Regions from separate parts of the Homo sapiens genome. Here region 2 is linked to region 1. The links are contacts of gene promoters, found by promoter capture Hi-C in blood cells and fetal thymus (Javierre and others, 2016). All regions are on one chromosome and are shown on one strand. The core of a region is centred on a gene start or on the middle of the fragment in contact, and the rest is flanking DNA. Distances in the headings are between cores, read along the strand shown. Region 1 holds the start of SP2 (Sp2 transcription factor). Region 2 has its middle 2.1 kb from the start of HOXB8.

Region 1 (3,492 bases), core at 482-2,981:
CTGGAGGGAAAAGGGTAGGATTTGTAGGAAGGGAACGGGGGTAGAGGGAGGAGATAAAGCATGAAAGATACACCAGTAAGAGTGTGTCCTCTGGTGGATGCTGAGGTTAAGAAGAAAAAAGAGTGGGAGGACTTTGCCTAGAAAGGAGTTTGGGCTTTATCTAGGAGATACGGATCCCATGAAGGATCTTTACTAGAGGAGTATTATTGTCTAAAGTCTTGTTTTTCAAAGGCTAACACTGAGAGGAGAAGACTGGAAGAGGCTATTAACATTTATTCAGCAATTACTGTGTACCCGGTATTCTGCTCTGCATTTTGTATTATCACACCAACCTTTTCTAGCAGTGTTTTTCAAACTGCCAGTCATGATCAACAAGAAGGAGAATAAGATAGGATAGGATAAGCATAGAAACTATCAGTGCGTCACAAGTAGTAAGCATTGTTTTCGGAAACTTTATGACACTCTCATACAAATAGCAGTGTACTGGTCTGTATGCAAAATGTATTTCTCTTGATGGACTATGTTTTTTTTTGTTTGTTTTTTTTTTTTTTTTTTTTAAGCCATCGCGCTAAGGTGTAGGTGTGATTAACCTCGTTTTACTGATGAGGACATGAAGCTCAGGGAGTTTCGGTACCCTGCCTAAGTTAGTGGGATGTGTAGGTTTCAAACCCAGACTGGTCTGAAGCCAGAATGGATTCCCTCACTAAGCTAGGCAGCCTTCCCAAGTTCTCGGAAGAGACTTGGGAGCAAAGATAAACCTACCCGCCTAGTGCCTACCAAGTGCTTTACCTCATCTCAAGAAGGTAAGGGTAAGTGGGGCAGAGGCCAAGCAGTACTTCTCAAACTCAAGCGTGCAATTCTGTCCACGCGAGGCCCTTGCTAAAATGCAGATTCTAGGCACGCCCCGTGAAGTACCGAGTCGGATTAGGAGAGGCGGCCAGGGGAGCCTGCCTTTAGAAAGAGCTTCGGATGATTCAGATGCACACGTTTGGGACCGTGGGCTATGGGGGTCGCCGCAATAACCATGTGAGGATTAACGGGGGCTTAACCGATTGTGAAAATCCCCTTAGAAGTGTCGCGTAAACAACCCCAACTCCCACTATGGTGCCGGACCCCAGTGCCTCACTGTACAAAGTCGCCCCTCCCCAGGCGACAACGAGAGAGGGACTAAATAAAAGGTTGATGGCTTTCCACTCACCAGGCATGGGGTTGAGTGGCAGCCGGCTACTGCCGAAGAGCAGGTAAAAGCTCCTGCCACACCTGGGCGAGACTGGACTTAGGGCGCAATGTATATGCTATTTCTGGGGCATTTGTGGGCCTCACCCTAAGGACTTCTGATTGGCTTCAGGGCAGATCTATCATTCATCCTCTGGGTTAGAGGTGGGTGGAAGGTCAACCTCGACCAATACAAAAGCACTCTTCGGCTAAGCCCCTCCCCTTCCAGCTTCCTGTTGCTGTACATCAACCACCCAGCGGGCGGGACTTTGCCTCCCTCCAATTGGCTGATGCACATGTCACTCATTATTCAATTGGCTTTCGGTTGGTGCGCTCTACCGTCCATCAGTGACATTGCACAGACCTATTGGTCAAATCAACGTCGCTCTAGACGCCTCTGGTTGATTGGTTAATAGTGCTGTCGGTCCCCAATGTTCCAAGCGCTTATTGGTGAAGGCTGCCGTCGCTCGGGCGGTGGCGGGCTCCGGGATTGGCGGTTGCTTGGCGGGCGGTGTCAGGCTCTCGGTGGCGGCGGAGGCGGCGGAGGCCAGGGAGGAAGATGTCGTAATGAGCGGTGGGTCCCGGCCGCTGCCGGCGGGGTCTTCCCGGCCCCCAAGGGTCAGGAAGACGGGCAGAGGCCGCGGGGAGAGGGAGCCGAGGCCGGGGGTTCCCCCCTGGGGCTGGGTCTGGCGTCGGGGCCCGGCTTCAGGAGGGGCGGGGGAGGGAGGATTCCCGCCCGGAGGAGGAGCGGGGCTGGCCAGCCGGGCGGAGGCACCCGGAAGGGGGCGTTCGACTCCCCGCCCCCTCGGAGCCCGCCGGGCGGGAGGGCGGCGCTTCCGGGGGCCGGCGAGAGGAGCGGGCACCGGGGTGGCCTGGCACCCCTCGGACGGGTGCCGACCCACTTCAACGCCGCTCTCCCGCCTGGGCGAACTATGCCTGGGTCGGCTCTGAGGAGGCAGCCAACAGCCCTTGTGTTCGCCCCGTGTCTGAGAGGCCTTCCTGCACTCTTAACTGTAGATGCCCACCAGCGATTCAGGGCTCCCCGGAGAACAGAGAGGGGCGAGGGAACGCTTGAGACCCGGACGCTGCCAACCAGATGGGCACTGCTCGGCATCGACGACAGCCCGGTTACTGATATATCCCCAGTCGGGCGATGGTGTCAGGACACGAGAGCACTCCCTGGGCAGATGACCTCTCACCGGGGAGTGGGCAAAAACCTTCCTTTAATGTTTTTACTTGGATCCTTGATCTTCCAGCTAGATATCTGCAAGCTCTTAGCAGAATTGTGAGAAGTTTGAGAACTTCTTGCCAGAGCTCCCAGCCTGTTACTTGACGCCCCGTAGGGGAGACTACTGCAGTCCCAAAGCTCAGGCGCAAACAATCTTAAGGAATTACAGAAGAAATAAAACAAAATAGATACTCGCTCTCTTCCTGTACCCACCTCCATCCCCATTGCTGACTTACGGTTTTCAGCCTCTTATCCATGCTTCTTATGTTTCCTTGCCAGCGGCTTTCTAATTTTAGTTCAGAAGGAACTATGTTTTCTCCTCTGGGCAACTGAGAAACCTGTCCTCACTGCATTCCTTGGTTTTGATTGCAATATCCTGTCATGTTTGTTTCTTAATTAACTTCATCCAAGGGGACTCAGTCTGGCCTTTCTCAGTGCATTCTCCCAAAGTTCTTTCTTCTTCTGAGGTTACTTCTTGTTCACTTATTGTTTCCTAGAGAAAGGTATGAGCCAGTAGATCTGCTTTAAACAATGAATTGGCCCAAGTTTCCCGTTTACAGATTTCATTACAGATGGACACTGTTTCAAGGTGCACTGGCATGCACTGTCTAAAACGGTTTCATGCTGTACCCCAGAAGGCATTCAGTTTCACAGTGGAGGGCTGTATTGAGTTGGTATTCTGGATGATACAATTTTTAGGGCTAGAAAGTTTAGAGTGTTGGCTGGCTCACAGGCTGCAAAGGAAATAATGGTGGAGTCCAGACCACAGCAGTAATTTCAATTACTAACACAAAGAAACCCATTGTCTGCAATAATGAATATAACTGCAGTGTCTTGTTTTGTTTTAAATTCTTGTGTGCGATGAAGGGGGCGAATCTATCAGACAACCTATCAATTGGGCTGATGATGTCAGTGTTCCAGTGGCTTCTAACAGGCGTTAATACCTGTTGGAAATGGATTATCATTGGCTGGGACGATTGGTAAGTTTTCTAATTCTAGTTCTTCCTCTTGGTTGTACAGAGGCTTAACCTCTTTGGTTAAAAGCAACT
Region 2 (3,492 bases), core at 426-2,925, 720 kb after region 1:
TTATCAAATCATACAGCTTCCTCTCCTAAACGTATTTTCAAACAAACGAGGTAGTCATATTTAAAGCTTTAATGATCAATTTCCTTATTATTGATAAAGGTTTAACTATCGTGTGGAGGGAATTGGCTGGATAACCGGCCCCCCAAAAAACGGCTGTAAACTCTTTAAGAAACTATAAAACGCAATAAAGCCGGAGTCTGTTGTTGTTTATGCCGCAGCGCATAAAAGCTGTTAGCATTTTACGAGTTCTTTCCTCTACAGCTATAAAACTGCAGCTTCGATCGCCCCCGCCGCCCGATTGCAGCACGGTGGGGGTGACGAAGCCGAAATGAGAATGATTATGGGGATTTTTTTTTGGCACAAACGGTGACTTTTCTGAGATTTTCACCTCCTTCCGTCCTGGCAAGCACCTGCCCCCACCCCTTCTCTGGAGCCCCCAAAAGGTCCCTTCTCTGCCCTGCCCTCTCTGCCCTGCCCTGGCCAGTCACAAAACTTCCTCTCATTAAACAAATAAGCAAAAATTTTCTGTGAAACAGGGATCTGGGAGATCTTGAGGAGGGAACGGGAGGGAAGAAGAAACTTTCTGGTTAATGAGCAGTGGTTGAAGCACAGAGCAAAGTTCGAGCTGCCACTGCCGATTCTGCAGGTTTGTGCACTCTCTGCTTGCTGAAAAGGGGGTCTCCTGAAGGCCCTTCAGCCCATCAGCACTTTTGAGGGCAGACTTTGCATGAAGGGAGAGGGCCTGATGCCATCAGAGGGATGAAGCCCCAATGGGCTACCCGACACTTGCACCCAGGCCTTGGGACCCAGTAGCCAAGCCCAATTATTAATAGCTCCCAACCTTCCCAGGCCGACCCCCACACCTTCTGCAGTGCCTAAGGGTGAGAGGGGACCACTGAGCCCATCACTGCATCAAAAGGAAAGAAGGTTGGGTATCAGGCCCTGGCACCTGGCCTTCGTGTCCGCTGTCCTATGCTCTCAGCCACCCTAGGCAGTGCCTGCAGAGTATGTGTTGGGAGGGCATCTATTAGTCCTCAGTGTCCCCAAGACCTTTTGAGCCACTGTCACCACCTAAACTGACTTGGGTGTGGAATTCAGATAAAGCAAGGTTGCTGAGTCTCCCATTTTCTCTCCTTTCGCCTTGGGGAGCCTGTAGTTAAACCTGGCTCTCCCTGCAGACCTGGGAACCAGAGGTCTGAACACGGAAAGCTGGAACAAGCTGACTGGGTGCCACACTCTGTGGCCACTGCGTTCCCTGCCTACCCGGCTTCACGATGGTGGTGGCCAGGCTTTAGAAGGCCCCAGTCTGAGGGTCAGAACCAGTAGCCTCCTGTAGCAGTAGATTGGCAAGGGAGAGGAATGAGAGACAGAAAGAAAATTTTGAGCAACAAAAGTGGAGGCTTTACAAATATATTCAATCCATTGTTTATTCAGGAAACAGTGGTTTGTTTTTTTGACGGGCACCTTTTGGGGACCCCATACACCCCAACATTTGTAAAAATGAAACTATCACTTTTCCAAAGGGAACCTTACCAGTGAGGTCATTTGGTTCTTCAAAAGTGAACCTAGAGAATGAGAGAGGGGCTAGAAGCGGGAGAGAGATAAAGGAAAAGAGGAGGAATGGAGAGAACCAGGGCTTTGAATTTTCAGCGCGTGGCTGAGGGGACCGTGAGGCAACGGAGGGCCGAGTTAAATTGTTGCCGAAGCAAACATTTTTATCAAGTGCAGAGGATTTTATGGTCATTATTTGAAAACTCACCGGCGAGGTACAAATTCAATGGCTTGTTCTAAATCATCTCTACACCGTGCCAGAAATTCCTGATGGAAGGAAAATGTTTCTGTTATAGGAAAAAAAAAAAAAAAAAACGAAAGAGCGAGGAGACAATTTATAAACACCCAGCGGAGCGCAGATTTATTAGAGAAACTCAAGTTGAGGAGAAACTCCGCTTACCTCCTTGCACTAAGTCCTGGTGGGGGAGAGGAGAGGCTGCAGCTGGGGTGATTTTGAGGGGGTGGGAGTATCTATTGCTGGCGCAGGTTTGTCGGATGGAAGGCAGGGATCCGGCGGGGCCGGGAGGACACAGGAGATTTGGAATGCAAGGGGCTGTGAACAACCAGGGTGCGGGTCTCAGAACGAAAGTGCCCGGAGTCCAGACCTCCAGCTGCTCAATGAGGAAAGGACCGGCGCCCCCAGGTTTGCCTGCGGCCAGGGCCAAGGCGCACTGAAGCCGCACCTCTCACCTGGAAGCCCAGGAACCCAGGGAGAACAGAGCTCCTGCGTCCTGACGCCGCGCCCGCCTTCGCGCCCATGGGAAAACGCGCATTCTTTGGGAGCGCGCAAAGCATCCAGAGACCACATCCGAGCCTTCCCGCACCCTGCTGCCCTGGGGAGCCCCTGCCCCGTGCCTAGGTCGCCCTGCGCGAGCCCAGCCCAGCCCTGGACTCATACAAAGGCTCCAGAGCTTGCGCCCGTGCGAAGCCGCCCTGCCGGCTTTGGGCATCTCCGAATCCCCACAAAAGCTATGGCTCCATTCCCCCACACACACAAACTGGGGGGTCTCGGGCTGGCTTACGTGATTTTCTCTCCAGCCGATGGGCAGCTTCCTCTCCATCCTACCTTCTTTTGCCGGCTAGCCCCTCTCACCTGACCTGCTGACCCGCATCCAGGGACATTCCTTTCGCCTCCTTTCACGGAAAATCTCGTTGTTTCGAATCAATTCTCCTTTTGGATTTGGACCCATTATTCCTATTATTACTATTATTCCCCGTTTTCACGCATTTGTTGCCCCACCGAACACAGCAACTGGGTGAGAATCACTGAGCCCTCCTCTTGGGGAAAATTCAGAAAATTGACCATTTGAGGAGATGGGGGAACACTACTATAACTGAAATCTATAAAATGGGGGTAAGGCCATAACGAGCCCTATTTTTTTTATTAGGTACAAATTATTCATGACTTTTGGTAGCACTCAGTTCCTGGATTCAGGGCCGACCAAGGCGCGGTGCCGGGAGCAGACATCCGCAGCTGCCGCTCCAGGGAGTTTCACATGGAGCAAGGGTGCCATCTAGCGGCTGCTCTGCGAAAAGGCGCCGCAGCCACCGGCTCCACCAGTTTTCTGGGAGAGCAGCCGCAGAGGTGGCCAGCAGGAGAAACTTTCATAACTAGCAGTAAAAGGGGAGGGATAGGGAGTGGGCATCGGAATCAGGAAACGGTTCATGAAATTGTGTAGATAAGCTAAAAAATAGAAAAAAAACACAACAGAGGGGAGGAAAAAAAAGAAGCCCTAAGCTTTTTTCTTTCTACGTACACCTCCCACCCCTGCCCCTAATTTCTAGCGGAGACCGCAAAGCAGTGCGCCCTTTATGGCCTGTAAAAAGGGGGACCGAGCAGTTTTCAAACTCCACGCGATTGTTTCAAATTCTGAGGAGAAACAGTTGGGCTTTTTGTCGGGGGAGAGGAGGCCTGAGAGGATAGGATGAGACTGTAAAAGA

Evidence for each region. The method cuts DNA at HindIII sites, captures the fragments that hold promoters and counts their contacts. A CHiCAGO score of 5 or more calls a contact.
Region 2: a fragment that was not itself captured here is called in contact with the fragment with the promoter of SP2 in region 1 in 4 of 17 cell types (neutrophils, fetal thymus, non-activated CD4 T cells and 1 more); the score reaches 9.7 in neutrophils.

The regions. Positions count from the first base shown.
Region 1 is chr17:47,894,505-47,897,996 of GRCh38, forward strand. It overlaps SP2 (Sp2 transcription factor), which reads left to right and starts at 1,732. Exons shown (of 7, transcript NM_003110.6): 1 at 1,732-1,789. The coding sequence starts at 1,783. It overlaps SP2-DT (SP2 divergent transcript), which reads right to left and starts at 1,312. Exons shown (of 3, transcript NR_135480.1): 1 at 1,199-1,312. RefSeq lists silencers at 1-253, 1,802-2,231. The HindIII fragment of the contact is 7,029 bases long and covers 1-3,492 here.
Region 2 is chr17:48,615,686-48,619,177 of GRCh38, forward strand. No RefSeq gene overlaps it. Among named protein-coding and RNA genes, the nearest start is that of HOXB8, 2.1 kb to the left of the region's middle. RefSeq lists an enhancer at 1,825-2,348. The HindIII fragment of the contact is 3,223 bases long and covers 65-3,287 here.